2 separate regions of the Homo sapiens genome follow, and region 1 is linked to region 2. The links are contacts of gene promoters, found by promoter capture Hi-C in blood cells and fetal thymus (Javierre and others, 2016). All regions are on one chromosome and are shown on one strand. The core of a region is centred on a gene start or on the middle of the fragment in contact, and the rest is flanking DNA. Distances in the headings are between cores, read along the strand shown.

Evidence for each region. Contacts are between HindIII fragments. The CHiCAGO score rates a contact against its expected background, and 5 or more counts as called.
Region 1: a contact is called between the fragment with the promoter of SSX2IP here and the fragment with the promoter of ZNHIT6 in region 2, in 2 of 17 cell types (naive CD4 T cells and non-activated CD4 T cells). The highest score is 7.5, in naive CD4 T cells.

Annotation. Positions count from the first base shown.
Region 1 is chr1:84,686,956-84,694,084 of GRCh38, forward strand. It overlaps SSX2IP (SSX family member 2 interacting protein), which reads right to left and starts at 3,506. Exons shown (of 14, transcript NM_001166293.2): 1 at 3,416-3,506. RefSeq lists a silencer at 2,958-3,717. The HindIII fragment of the contact is 1,864 bases long and covers 2,115-3,978 here.
Region 2 is chr1:85,707,183-85,714,737 of GRCh38, forward strand. It overlaps ZNHIT6 (zinc finger HIT-type containing 6), which reads right to left and starts at 1,251. Exons shown (of 10, transcript NM_017953.4): 1 at 447-1,251. The coding sequence starts at 1,102. RefSeq lists enhancers at 508-1,341, 1,044-1,403, 1,342-2,174. The HindIII fragment of the contact is 1,595 bases long and covers 23-1,617 here.

The DNA of each region.
Region 1 (7,129 bases), core at 2,256-4,755, 1.0 Mb before region 2:
ATTAGACGCTCATGGATAGATCTAGCATGACAAAAAAAAAATCCTGTCTTTAAAGTCTGTTCTTACTCAATTACAGCATTTTTATATCAAGTAGAAATATTAAGTGCTCAGTAAGTATGAGCTATTTTTCCAGGCATTGTTCTGGATACTAACCTATTTTTCTAATCACACCCCTACGAAGCAGGTATTGTTATTATCCTTCATAAATGCGACAACCAGGGCACAAGATCACATAGCTAGTAGTGTGGTAGATCAAACCGAAAATGTGACTCAAGAGAATATGAGAAAAGGATATGTGTGAAGCAAGAGTTAAAAGATGAGAACAACTGGAGTTAAGATTGTTCTGAATGTTTAACTGCTTGTAGTTTCATTTCTATTTAAAAACTTATTTTTGCTAATTTGAAAGACTATTTCTTCTCTCATCTCAGAATCCTACATTGCTAGAGTCTGACATTTTTATGTCTGACACCCAGATTCTGTACTGCATTATAACTGTGTTATTTCTCCTACTGAACTGCAGGTTGCTTGAAAATGGGGAAGTATCTTATTTAATTTGTATCCCTATTCTTCCAGTCTTCAAAGTAGAAGATACTTAAGAAAGGTTTGTTGTATAATTATTTCTGCTTTTCTGGAGTTTCTGAGGGCTTCAGCAAAATATACTTCAAGTCTAACTGCTGTGTGGGACTGTCTTTCAGATATTATTTGCACTATACTCAATACATTTTGGATCACTCAAATTACTGATTTTGGTGGAAATATCCTTCTAAAGTAAAAATAAAATATAATTCCCCTTCATAAAACCTTCTGAAGGTTCCCTGTAACCTACTGGTCAATGTTCACAGCACTGTTCTACAGCCTTATTAATATGGCAACCCCACCCTGGTCCAACTCTACCAAGCCACCTGTAACTCAACTGTACACTGCTGCAGAATGCACCAGCTGCTTGATGAACTCCACTGCCTCTACCAGACACAGCTGAAATTCTCCTTCTTTTTGAAAGCCTTCCTATATTTGTTTTTTGTGAGGTTTTTTTGCTTCCTGCCTCACTATGCTGATAATTTCTAAAATACAAATTCCTCAAGGCAACACTCATCTTTTTATCCTCAGGTCAGGCAAGTAGCAGCTTACTAAGCGTTTAATGAATGTTTATTGAAAGAATTACTAAAGAATAATTCAGTAAATCTGCTGGTACTACATAAAACATTGGCCCACAATCAAAAGGCACAATTCTAGGATGTTTTTCATTACTACTAATGAATGGTGCATTTCTCTATTCTATCTCATCCCATAAACTCGTGAATTCAAGATAACTTGTACCTTCACTACTAGCTAACCATATCACCATTACCAAAGCCACAAAACAAACCCACATCGTATCAAAACCTCTTTGCGTCATGAGCAAATGGTGAAACCAGTAAGGCATATTCACAGCTATTGTAAAAGATATGGAAAAAATAACTTAAAAATCTTTGAAATCGATCCAATTTAAGCATGTTAAATGAATTAAAATCACACAATTTGGGGGCGGTGTCTTTTCATGCACCTAATTTCTCTAGGGGTATACTACATAAAAGGCACTCAAACGCCTACTTTATAAAACCGGTGTCACGGCCTGCTTTGGCCAAAAAGCAGACTGTCAAGTACTAGGAGATCCCAAGTATACAATTGGACACTGTGCTGGACTTGAGGTCTTTAGCAAACAATTTCAGCGTAACATTTTAGTTTTCTCATATATCTGCCTCATTATGTTTAGAACATAATGTGCTTTAACAAGTCTTGTCACAAGGCACAATGTGTTATGAGATCTCCACATTTCATCCTAGAATAACTAAGTCTTCACAGTTATCTTCAAGCTGCCTCACCCATGTTACGTAATCCATGAGCTTTTTATCTTCCCTGTACAGTTGGGGAAAGAGAAGGGAAGGAAGAGTACAAAATGACTTGGCCTAAGAGGTTCAGCCAGTCACTAAAAGAGCCTTCGTTTTAATTATCAGTTCCTAACCCTCTTCTCAAAGAACCGTTTTGTTTGAGAAACCTTCATTAACAGCAGGCAGAACAGAGTGTTAAATTAGCTATTAGCTTTCCTTACTTGTTTAGTGTGAATGAATAACCTAAGCTTCCTAAGCCTGTAGGTTGATAGTTTTAGGATAAGAGATCTGATGGATCAAGTTTTGCCGACTGGATCCAAATTCATAAATCTACCTCTAACTTCTAAATTTCAAAATAGCTTGACGTGAACTTTAAAGGCATTTCTTTCCTCTCCAAATTTCTAATTCTTTACAAATTTTATTCACTCTCCTAAATGAGTCAACTCATACCAACCTTTCTAGTTCAGGATCAAACTGTAGGATCACCAGAATTTTCTTCTACCCCACAGTAAGCCAAACCCCCATGAACCATGAAAAGGTCCATGACATCCATCACCCACAGCTAACTCTACACCTTGACTCTAATCTGAATTGTTAGAAAGCCCAGGAAGTTCAAGAAGCCTCCACCCTTACACTTCTAAATCACCTTCTTTTCTAATCCTCAACCTATTACAGCGTCCAGAAAAGAGAAATCTCAATTCTCTCAGATTCAAGAACTTTATCAGCGTTGCTAGTAATCGCAGTTTGGCATTTACAACTATGGGTCCTGAAACTGGGTAATAATCTAAAAATTCCTACATTATACGTGCAGACAGCAAATTAGTATATTCTATGTCCTGGGCCCAAGCGATATGCCTAACTGGGCAATCAGCATAGGCTCAAAAAATGTGCAGGGAGCTCACAATTCAGTTTACTGTCGTTGACTATAAAATTCTAAACCAAAGTATTTTCATGATAAAATTATAAACCAAAGTATTTTCACACATGCCTGCCTCTTGGATGATGTAAATTCTTCCCCTAGACTTTTTACTAGACCACTATCGGGGTTCTCTTCCACTGCAGCGGCCACCCAATAACTCGTTTTAAAGACTGCCTCTTGCGGCTGCACTAGCAAATCGCCAAACCCCGCATGCCCCACGGCCGCTGCTGAGACTCTGCAGCCCCAAATCGGCCATCCCCTCCTCCCCCACGTCCCCGCGCTGCTCGTCCCCCAACGCCGGGCGCCAACCTTGCTCCATCCCAGAGAGGGTTTGGGGCTCCCCGGGTCAGAGCGCTCCGCAGGCGCAGCTCCGCGAACGCCAGCGAGAGCGGTCCCGGGGCCAGCACCTACCTCCCACCTCCTCCTCCAGGAGCGGCCCGGGTCGACGCTCGCCCGCACCCTGCAACGGCCCCAACAGCCGCGCGGAGCCTCCCGCCGAACAACGGGGCGCTGAGCCAGGTGCCGGCTCTCACCTCCGCGCGCGCCCGCCCCTTGCCGGCGCCCACCCCCGCCCGCCCCTCCCTGGCGGGGCGCGTCACAATCCCCGACGCGAGGCGCTGCTGCTCACCGTCACGGCCCCCGGGAGCGGCGGGGAGTCACCGCTCGGCGTCCTAGCCCGGCTCCCGCAGCCCGAGGGCCAGCAGCGCCTCGCAGCGCCTCCCGCCCGCGGCCCCTCCTCCGCTGCGGGCTCCCGCCTTCCCCGCCCCTTGCAGCCGCCTCCCGGCCTCCGCAGGTTTCCGAGGTTCCCACCCCGCCCCCGCGCGCCGGCGCCGCAGGCCCCGCCGCCTCCCATTGGCTCCGCCAGTTGCTAGGCGATGAACAACCGTGGCCTGCATTGGTCGGGTGGGGGCCTCGGTAGTCTCCTCCTTACCTCCAAAAAAACCCGGAGAAAAAGAAGACCTTATCCCTGCGGTCCGCGCGCGCTGCGGGCGCAGCTGCGGCTGCGGCACCTGTTACGCCCAGTGATTCACCCGGCCGTTTTCTGCTCCCCGCCCCCTTCTGACGCCTGCAGCGTCCGGGGCCGGGGCTCTGTGGGGGCCGGGACTCTGCAGGGACCGGGGTCGTGGCTACTTTAGAGCACGTTTTCCGAGCCCCACTGAACCCCAACACCCAGCCTAGCAGCAAAAGTGAAGCTTCCAGGAGAGCCACGTGCGTTTGCCAAAGTGGAGAAATAAACTGCGGGCACCTAGAATTAGGTCAGGTCCAAGGAACGGGAGGTTCAAGCGTCGGGAGTCGTGGATGCAAACAATCCAGCCGGGAGAAAGTTATATGTAAAATTAGGGCGAAGAAATGGATCTGGGCAGAAGACCGCGGGCAAAGGAAAGACTAAGAAATAGCATTCGTGAACTCAGTTTATGCAAAAATGTCTTACACCCACTCGACAAAGTATGTGCGATGAAAATGTATGCCTGCTGCACCCGTGGCCAGGGTCAGGCTGTCTCCTCCCTGGTTTCATGGCAGCCTAAAATTCACTGGGGAAGAAAAGAAAAGAGGCCAGAGAAAGGAGATCAGATGGAGAAATCACAGGCATATAGGTTACACAAAGATGTTCTTTGATTTTTGTTTTGTTTAGTTTTGGTGAAGCCAAGGGATTTATTCAAAAGGCGAAAAACAGGTTTGGTGTTTTAAGGAGACTCCTGAGAGCACTTTGAAACCAAAACAGTATGAGTGAAGATGCTAACACTGAAAAACAAGAGCGGGAGGAATGTCCACCTCCCAGTTTGCATGCACGTATCCCCAATCCTGGATGAAAGATCAGGGCCAGAAGAAGCACGCCACGGTGACAACTTCAGGGCCCAACGAAATCCTCCTCTTTTCCTTTGGCCAAGCAATCAGAGGCCCGTCTAGCTGCTGTTGAGCCCAGGTGGCGTTACCATTAACAGTTACATTTTTAAAAGGTTTGAACCAAGCTTAGTTGAGCTCTGGGAAGTTTAGCTCTGACCTCAGCAACCCCGGGAAAGGAATAAGATCTGCCTGAATAAACCAGCGGTCTCAATCTTTTGGTCTCAAGACCGCTTTCCACTTGTAAAATTATTGAGAGCCCCAAGAACTTTTCTTTATGTTGGTTACAGCTATTAATATTAAAACAGAAATTTAAAAATTGCTATTTTTTAAAATAATAATGAATAAAAATAAAAATGTCAAATAGCGCATTTTAATTAAAAATAACTATTTTCAAAAAATTAGTTAAAAGAATGGTGTTACTTTAAAATTTTGCCCATATCTTTAATGTCTTGCTTAATAGAAGGCATTTGGATTTTCATATCTGTTTGTGCATTCGATCTGTTGTGCTATTTCAGGTAGCGTCTGGAAAACTCTACTGTGCACTCATAATGAGAGGGAAAAAGGCAAATAATATCTTAGTATTATAACAAAAATAGTTTTGACTTTGCAGACTCCCTGGAAGGGTCTTGGAAACTTGCCGCCCCAAGGTTCAGCAGATCTTTGAAAACCACTGGTCTAAACCTCTTTGTACTCTGTCCCTCTTTGTTAACCAATAACTGGTTAAGGGGCTAAAAATATGACCTAATTCTGCTCAGTCCATAATGGGGAGTGGGGGATGAGGAGCTTCAGGGGAAGGATTTTATCCTGACAGACTAAGGACAAGTTTTTTCCTTCTTGCCTTGGACATCCTCCAGTAAGCCAGACATGTTTGGAGCTGTGGCAGCATATTCTGCAACCACGAGAGAAAAGCAAGAAAAATACATGCGTACCTCGTTTTATACTTCAATTTATTGCACTTTACAGGCACTGTATTTTTTTTTAATAAAGGTTTGTTGCTCAACCCTGCATTGAGCAAGTCTAGTGGCACCATTTTTTCTAAGAGCATGTGTTCACTTGGTGTCTCTGTCACATTTCGGTAATTTTTGAAATATTTCAGACTTTTCCATTAAATATGTTACGGTGATCTGTGATGTCACTATTGTATTATTTTGGGGGTGCCGCAAACTGCACCCTTATAAGACAGCCAATTCAATGTATATGTTGACTGCTCCACTGACTGGCTGATCATCTCTCTCCCTCTCCTTGGGCCTCCCTACTCCCTAAGACACAGCAATATTAAAATTAGGCCAATAAATAACCCTACAATGGCCTCTAAGTGTTCAAATGAAGGGAAGAGTCACATATCTCTCACTTTAAATCAAACGCTAGAAATGATTAAGCTTAGTGAGGAAGGCATCTTGAAAGCTGAGATAGGCAGAAAGCTAGACCTATTGTTCCAGTTAGCCAAGTTATAAATGCACAGAAAAAGTTCTTGAAGGAAATTAAAAGTCCTCCTCCCTTGAACACAGGCATGAAAAGAAAGTGAAACTGCCTTATTGCTGATAAGTAGAAAGTTTGAGTGGTCTGGATAAGAGATCAAACCAGCCACAGCATTCCTTTAAGCAAAAGCCTATCCAGAGCAAGGCCCTAATTCTTCATTTCTATGAAGGCTGAGAGAAATGAGGAAGCTTCATTTAAAAAGTTTGAGGCTAGCAGAGTTTGGTTCATGAGGTTTAAGGAAAGAAGCCATCTCCGTCACATGAAAGTGCCAAGTGAAGCAGCAAGTGCCGCTGTAGAAGCTGCAGCAATTTATCTAGAAGATCTGATTGATGAAGGTGGCTACACTAAACAGATTTTCAGTGTAGACCAAAAGAAAGCCTTCTATTAGAAGAATATGCCACATAGAACTTTTCTAGCTAAAGAGGAGAAGTCCCTGCCTGGCTTCAAAGGACAGGCTGACTCTTGTTAGGGGCTAATGCAACTGCTGACTTTTTATTTTTATTTTTTATTTTTTGACACAGGGTCTCAATGTGTTGCTCAGGCTGAAGTGCAGTGGTGCGATCACGGCTCACTGCAGCCTCAAGTGATCCTCAAGCAATCCTCCCACCTTAGCCTCCCAAGTAGCTGGGGCTACAGGCACACACCACCATGCCCAGCTAATTTTTGTATTTTTTGTAGAGACAGGGTTTTACCATGTTGCCCAGGCTGGTCTCAAACTCCTGAGCTCAAATGCTCCACCTCCCTCAGCCTCCCAAAGTGCTGTAAGCCACTATGCCCGGCTCCAGCTACTGACTTTAAGTTGGAGGTAATGCTCATTTGCCATTCCAAAGATCCTAGGGCCCTTAAGAAATATCTAAATTGACTTTGCCTGTGTTCTATCAATGGAACAACAAGGCCTGGCTGACAGCACATCTGTTCACAGCATGGTTAGTGAATATTTTAAGTCCACTGTTGAGACCTATGACTCAGAAAAAAAGATTACTTTCAAAATCTCACTGCTCATTAATAATGCACCTGG
Region 2 (7,555 bases), core at 1-2,500:
ATATTCACAGCACCCATGAAGAAGCTTGATAATTGAGGTCAAGTGTATTTTTGCCTAGTTTTAACTTAATCTACTTTGTCATTGTTAGTTTTATTAGACTTTCTCATCTCTATTCTCTCTCAAAGGAATACCGAGTAAAGAGCATATTAAGTCAAGCCAGATCCAGTTCCAACTGATCTTTTGGTCCCCAGAATTTCCACTTTCCTAACTTGACCATTACCCATTGGACACTACTAATTTCATGTATTTTCACTGAATTTGTTGTGTTGTCATGTACAACACCCTCCACTTCCCAACCCACCCCCGCGAACGCCGTCTGACTCCAGAAACCCAAACTTGTGCTCATTTTTCATTATTCCACCTTCTCCTGATAGTGTGGTTTCCTTCACTCTAGACATGAGGACTCCACAGCTTTATTCCCCTAAATGGAATCCCCCATGCCCTACCTTGACATGGCCAGTTTCCGCTTGCAGCCCACCGGGTGATTTATCGGAGGCTCTTCTTTCACCTTTGTATCATCCACGATTTCTTTCTTCAGGAAATCCTTCTCTTCTTTTACACACTCTCCATGCATCAATTCCTCTTTTATGCATTGACCAACAAACTTCTCCTCCTGTTTTATCTCCAAGTTATCCTTCTCTTCCTTCACTTCTGACCAGTCCATTACCTCTTCCTTTACCTTCTCTTCCTTTACCTCTGGTTCACCCACCTTCGCTTCTTTTACCACTAAACTACTATCCGTCTCCTGCTTCACCTCCAATACGCCTGCGTTCTCATCCTTCACCTCAGGCCTATCCTCCACCTCCTGTTCTACCCACTGGCCAGCCAACCTGCCTTCTGTACCTGGCCAGTCTATAATTTCCTGCTTCACTACCGTTAGGTCCATCGGTATTTCCTCTGGCCTTTGTCCACTTCCTTCCTCTCCATCCCCTATCTCCTTTATCCCTGTCAGCCCTGTCCCCTCCTCTCCGCCGCCGAACTCCTCCGCCCCTGCTAAGTCCCTTACTCCCTCCCTGCCAGGCTCTGGACTTAGCCGCACCCCCTCAGCTACGCTGTGGAGACCTCCCCCAGACTTCCCTTCATTTTCAGCAGCAAACTCCATCAACTCACGATCCTTGGCCTCTGCTGCCACTCTATCCTTCAATGTGGCTGCTGCACACCAATAGGAGGAATTACCGGTCGGAATACCTACGGCGGCCCACGTGTGGAGCCAAGCAGCCACAAACCCGGAATAGCCTGCTTGACGCGACTGCTCGAATCGCCGTAAAGCTACGCTTTTGCGCCTCGCCCCTTCACGACTTGTAGAGCTCTTTACGGCTCTGCGGAGGCCCTGCCGGATTCTCTGGGCGAACAAGCGTAACTGCGTGACTTGCCCGCTGGGGTTCTCGTCTCCTTCCTGGTTTCCACCACCCTCTTCCCTTAGAGAAGCCTCCTGGGCCACTCCCTGGGCCACCCTCCACGCCCTGCTGGGTGTAAAGAGTGTAGGAGACCGGCAGAGGGAGAGAAGCGAAACCCTTACACTCTGGAAGTGGGAAAACCCACCCTAATCTGTGTTAACCATTAAATCCAATCTTGCATGAAAATGGAGGACACACCTGATGTTATTAGGCCTTTCCAAGCTTTAGTTTCTTAAAGCTATAAACTAGGGACCATGGTATTATTAATATAAATCTCCCAGTGTCATTGCAAAGATTATATGAGATCATGCATGGAAATCAACTAGCAGTGACGGACACAAACTCGATATATAACTGGGAATCCTGATGGGCTTCAAACCGCCTGGTTTCCACCACCCCCTTCCCTTAGGGAAGCCTCCTGGGCCACACCCTAGGCCACCCTCCACGCCCTACTGGGTGTAAACAGTGGAGGAGACCGGCAGAGGGAGAGAAGCGAAACCCTTACACTCTGGAAATGGGAAAACCCACCCTTATCTGTGTTAACCATTAAATCCAATCTTGTATGAAAAAGGACACACCTGATGTTACACCTTTGCAAGCTTTAGTTTCTTGAAGCTATAAACTAGGGAGCATGGTATTATTAATATAAATCTCCCAGTGTCATTGCGAAGATAATATGAGATCATGCATAGGAATCAACTGTCAGTGACAGACACAAACTCAGTGTATAACTGGGAATCATGATGGGTTTCAAGTAGGAAAGAGGGCATTAATTTTTCTTTCCATTCTTTCTAAGTAACAGCCTGCGTCAGGCTATTCCCCATTCCCAGCATTCTGCAGGATTCTCTCAGAGAACATCATAAATATATTAGGCGAAAGTGCCTAATGCCCGGTATTGCTGAATAACATTGCATTGTATGAATGTGGCACGTTTTTTCATGCATGTACCAGTTGGTGGGCATTTGGCTTGTTTCCAGTTTGGGCTATTACGAATAATTCTGCTTCCACATTCATATGCAAGTCTTTGTGTGGACATGTTTACATTTCCCGTTAAGTAAATAACTAGGAGTGGAATTGCTGGGCCATATAAATTTATGTTAATTTTTAAAGAAATGCCCAAACTGTTTTCCAAAGTAGCTATACCATTTTACATTCCTACTGGCTGAGGGTTCCTATTTCTCTACATCCCGGCCAATTCTTAGTATTATCAGTTATTTGATTATAGATGTGTAGGGGTACGTCATTGAGAATTTACATTTCTTTAATGACTAATGATGTTGAACATCTTTTCATCTGCCAACTGGCCATTTGGATATTTTCTTTAATGAAATGTTTATTCAGATCTTTTGCCCATTTTTAATTGACGTCTTTTATTATCAAATTGTAGTAGTTCTTCATATATTATGGATATAGGTTTGTGGTAGACAAGCACCAGTATGTTCCCCAGTGATTCTCCACCCCCACAGTGTTCAGACCAATGTGTAGACTGCTCCTGCATCATCCCAGGATTGGTCTGTGTCACTGATAGCATACAGCAGAAGTAATACGTTACCTCTAAGATTAGGTTTGGAGAAAGGCTGTGGTTTCTGCCTTAGGCTCTTGCTTTTTTGGTCTCCTTCCTAGATCATTCACTCTGGGGGAAGCAAGCTGCCAGGTTGTGAGTACCAAGAGGCCCATGTGGTAGTGGGCCGAAGTTACTGGCTCTTACAGGCTGAATTGTGTCCCCTCAAATTCGTGTGTTAAATCCGTAACACCCAGTACCTTAGACTGTGAGTATATTTGGAGATAGGACCTTTAAAGGTGATTTCGTTAAAATGAGACCATTAAGGTCGGCCCTAATCCAATCTGACTGATATCTTTATAAGAAGAGGAAATTTGGACACAAAAAGAGACACGAGGGATGCCTGCAGAGAGAAAAGACTATACGATGATACAGTGAGGTGGCCACCTGCATGCCAGCGAGAGAGGCCTCAGAAAAAAACAAGACTGGTGACAACTTATTTTGGAGTTCTAGCGTCTAGAACTGTGAGAAAATAAATTTAAGTCACTCAGTCTATGCTAGTTCATTATAGTGGCCTTGGCAAACGAATGCACTGGCCAACAATCAGCAAGGAATTTCAGCCTGTCAATAGCATATGAATGTGTTTGGAGGAAGATTCTCTAGTCTTAGTCCAGCTTTACATGACTGCGGCTCTGGCCAACAACTGAACCCAGATTCCGGACACTCAGAAATTGTGGGAGGGGATAAATGTTTCTTGTTTTAAACTGCCAAATTTCTGGATAATTGATACAAAGCAATGCATAATTAATACCAATTCCTTGTATGGTTCGCAAATATTTTCTCCCAGTTTGTGGCTTTTCCTTTTCTTAGTTGTATCTTTAAAAGAGCAAAAATTTTACACTTCAATTAAATCCAGTTTATCAATTTTTATTTTTATTTTTTGTGATGGAGTCTCGCTCTTGTCACCCAGGCTGGAGTGCAATGGCGGGATCTCTGCTCACTGCAACCTCCGCCTTCTGGGTTCAAGTGATTCTCCTGCCTCAGCCTCCCGAGTAGCTGGGACTACAGGCAGGTGCCACCACACCTGACTAATTATTTTTGTATTTTTATTAGAGATGGAGTTTCACCATGTTGGCCAGGCTGGTCTCGAACTCCTGACCTCAGGTAATCCACCCACCTCCCAAAGTGCTGGGATTACAGGAGTGAGCCACTGCACCCAGCCTCTCAATTTTTAAATGAATGGTGCTTTTTGTGTCACACTAATAACTTTTTGCCTAGCCCAAGGTTGCAAAGAGATATTTCTCCTATATTTTCTAGAAGTTTTATAGTTTTAGCTTTTACATTTAGGTCTGTGATCCATTTTGAGTTGGCTTTTGTATCTAGAGTCATCCCTCTGTTTCTGTGGGGATTGGTTCCAGGACCACCACAGATCTGAGAACGCTCAAGTCCTACAATCTGCCATCTGCATCCATGGTTCCACATCTGTAGGTTCCACCAGCTGTGGAAATTTGATCCATGGTTGGTGGAACCCACATGTGGCAGAACTAAGGATATCATCCATAAGGTGGACAAGGTAATGGTTTAAGTTTCTTTTTTTTAATATGGATATCTTATTGTCCAAGCACCAGTTGTTGAAGCCTATTCTTTTTCCTTGAATTGCCTTGATATTTAAAAAAATCAATTGACCACAAAGATAAAGATTTATTTCTGGACCTTATATTCTGTTTTACTGATCTATATGTCTATCCTTACACAAATACCATACTCTATTATAACTTTATAGTAAGTCCAACTTTCTTTTCTTTTGAAAATTGTGTTGGCTATTCTTGGTTGTTTGCATCTCTGTGTATTTAGTGCCAGCTTGTCAATTTCTACAAAAGAACTTGTGGGATTTTCATAGGGATTGTGTGGAATATATAGATAAGTGAGGGGAGGATTGTCATCTTAACAACATTGTGTCTTATCCATGAAAACGGAATGCCATCCATTTATTTATATTGTCTTTAACTTCACTTAACAATGCTTTGTAGTTTTCAGTGTACAAGTTTTTACATATCTTTTGCTAAATTTATTCCTAAGCATTTTATTCTTGATGTGGTTTTTGTTTTTTTTTAAATTGACACAGGGTCTCCCTCTGTCACCCAGGCTGGAGTACAGTGGCAAAATCATGGCTCACTGCAGCCTCGACCTCCTGAGTTGAAGCTATTCTCCCACCTCAACCTCCCAAGTAGCTGGGACCACAGGCGCATGCCACCATGCCCAGCTAAATTTTTTTTGGTATTTTTTGTAGAGATGGGGTTTTGCCATGTTGCCCAGGATGGTCTCAAACTCCTGGGCTCAAGGGATCCGCCCACCTCAGCTTCTCAAAGTGCTGAAATTACAGGCGTGAGCCACCACACCTGGCCTTGATGTGATTTTGAATGAAATTACTCATTTAATTTCATTTTGGATTTTTCATTGCTAGGTTGCAGAAATACAATTGATTTTTGTATTTTGATTTCATATCCTGCAACCTTAATAAACTCAAATGTTTTATAATATCTCTATATAATTGTATTCAATTAACTTACATTTTGTTTAGGAGTTTTCGTCTATGAAGGATGTTTATTTATCTGTAGTTCTTTTTTCTTGTAATGTTAGGTTTTGTTATCAGAGTTTTCTGCATACCTTTTAACTTTTATGTTTCCCATCTCTTTATTGCTTCCAGATACTTTCTGGGAGAGTTCCCCAAGTAATTTCTACCTTACTATTTTGGTATTTGATGGTATGCAATCTGTTAGTCAACCTATCCACTAAGCTCATTTCAGTCACTATGTTTTTCATAACCATTGTCTGTAGCTTATTTTGCTTCATATTTCTAATATCCCTTTTTATCTCTCTGAAGGTAGTCCTTTAACTCGTTTTATTTATTTATTTTTTTGAGATGGAGTCTCGCTCTGGTTGTCCAGTCTGGAGGGCAATGGTGCTATCTTGGCTCACTGCAACCTCCGCCTCCCAGGTTCAAGTGATTCTCCTGCCTCAGCCTCCCCAGTAGCTGGGATTACAGGTGCCCACCACCATACCCAGATAATTTTTGTATTTTTAGTAGAGACAGGGTTTTGCCATATTAGCCAGGCTGGTGTTGAACTCCTGACCTCAGGTGATCCACCCACCTTGGCCTCCCAAAGTGCTGGGATTACAGGCGTGAGCCACCATGCCCGACTTTTGACTCTTTTAAAAATCTTCAGTTTTTTGTCCATTAATTCTGTCCCTCCAGTATAAATTATCCAGCTTAAAAAAATCTTTTAGAATTACAGTCCAGATTTTATAATATTTTCTCTGGTGAGCTCCTATTCCTTTGAGAGTATTAGCAAGCATAGTTGTAATTCATATTTGAAAGGTAGGATCAAAAGCATAGGATTTGGATTGCAACTCTTCTGGTTATTCTTTTCAGTGTGGAGGGTAAGCAGAAGAGTGGATGAGCATCATGGTAGAAAGCCTCTGGTGTTACAATCTGGGCTGCACTAGCCCCAGTCTGCCCTCCTATGAAGAGCATACGCCTCTCAGGTTAACTTCCAGTACTCCCACATTGCCATCCCATTTCCAAGAGCTGCTGTCTTCTGGGTAATCATCTAGACTTTTGGGTGGAGGGAAGAAGACAACTGTTCTAAACCAACTGGTATACACAGTTATCAGCTTTCCTGGTGTTCTTCTGCCTCCTTGGACACTTGCTGGGCTAACTTTGTGTTTTTATAAGCATCTTGAGTTGAGGTGGGCCACGATCCACCCAAGCTAATGTAGGGTAGAAAAGGGAACAATCAGAGATTCTATCCTTTCATCCACCCTCTACCTCCATTAGTGTCCCTCTTTGTCCCTCCAGGCTTTCCTTTCTCCACCACAATGGACCCAACTCCCTTTCACCTCCTAAGGGTTTTCAGAGTTTCCTAGTTAGGCTCATTATTTATCCCCTCCCCCCCATATATGTGGCATCTTCAGGAATGGATTTGGAGACTCCAGGAGACAATAGCTTTGTTAGTTTGCTATCTTTTCAGAAACAAGAAGTTACCAGATTGAACTTTTTATTTAGCAATACTGTATGGTAAAGAATTTGTGAAATTATTTGAGGGATATCCCAAATATCCTTTCTTCTGGGCTTCCCATGACACTGCTATCGGGGGAACCAGCCCCCAATATTTCAATGTAGGTTCTTTTCTATTTTCCCTAAGTGTTGGCAGGTCTGAGAAATAAAGAGAAAGAGTGCAAAAGAGAGAAATTTTATAGCTGGGTCTCCAGGGGTGACATCACCTGTCAGCAGGTTCTGTGATGCCCCCAAGCTGCAAAACCAGCAACTTTTTATTGGCGATTTTCAAAGGGGAGGGAGTGTACGAATAGGGTGTGGGTCACAGAGATCACATGCTTCAAAAGGCAATAAAATATCACAAGGCAATTGGGGGCAGAGCAAGATCACAAGGCCAGAGCGAAATTAGAATTGCTGATGAGGTTTCATTTCCCACTGTGCATGCATCGTCACTGATAAACATCTTAACAGGAAACAGGGTTTGAGAGTAGACAACCCTTCTGACTAGAATTCATCAGGCCAGAATTTCCTAATCCTAGCAAGCCTAAGGGCGCTGCAGGAGACCAGGGCGTATTTTATCCCTTATCTTCAACTGCATAA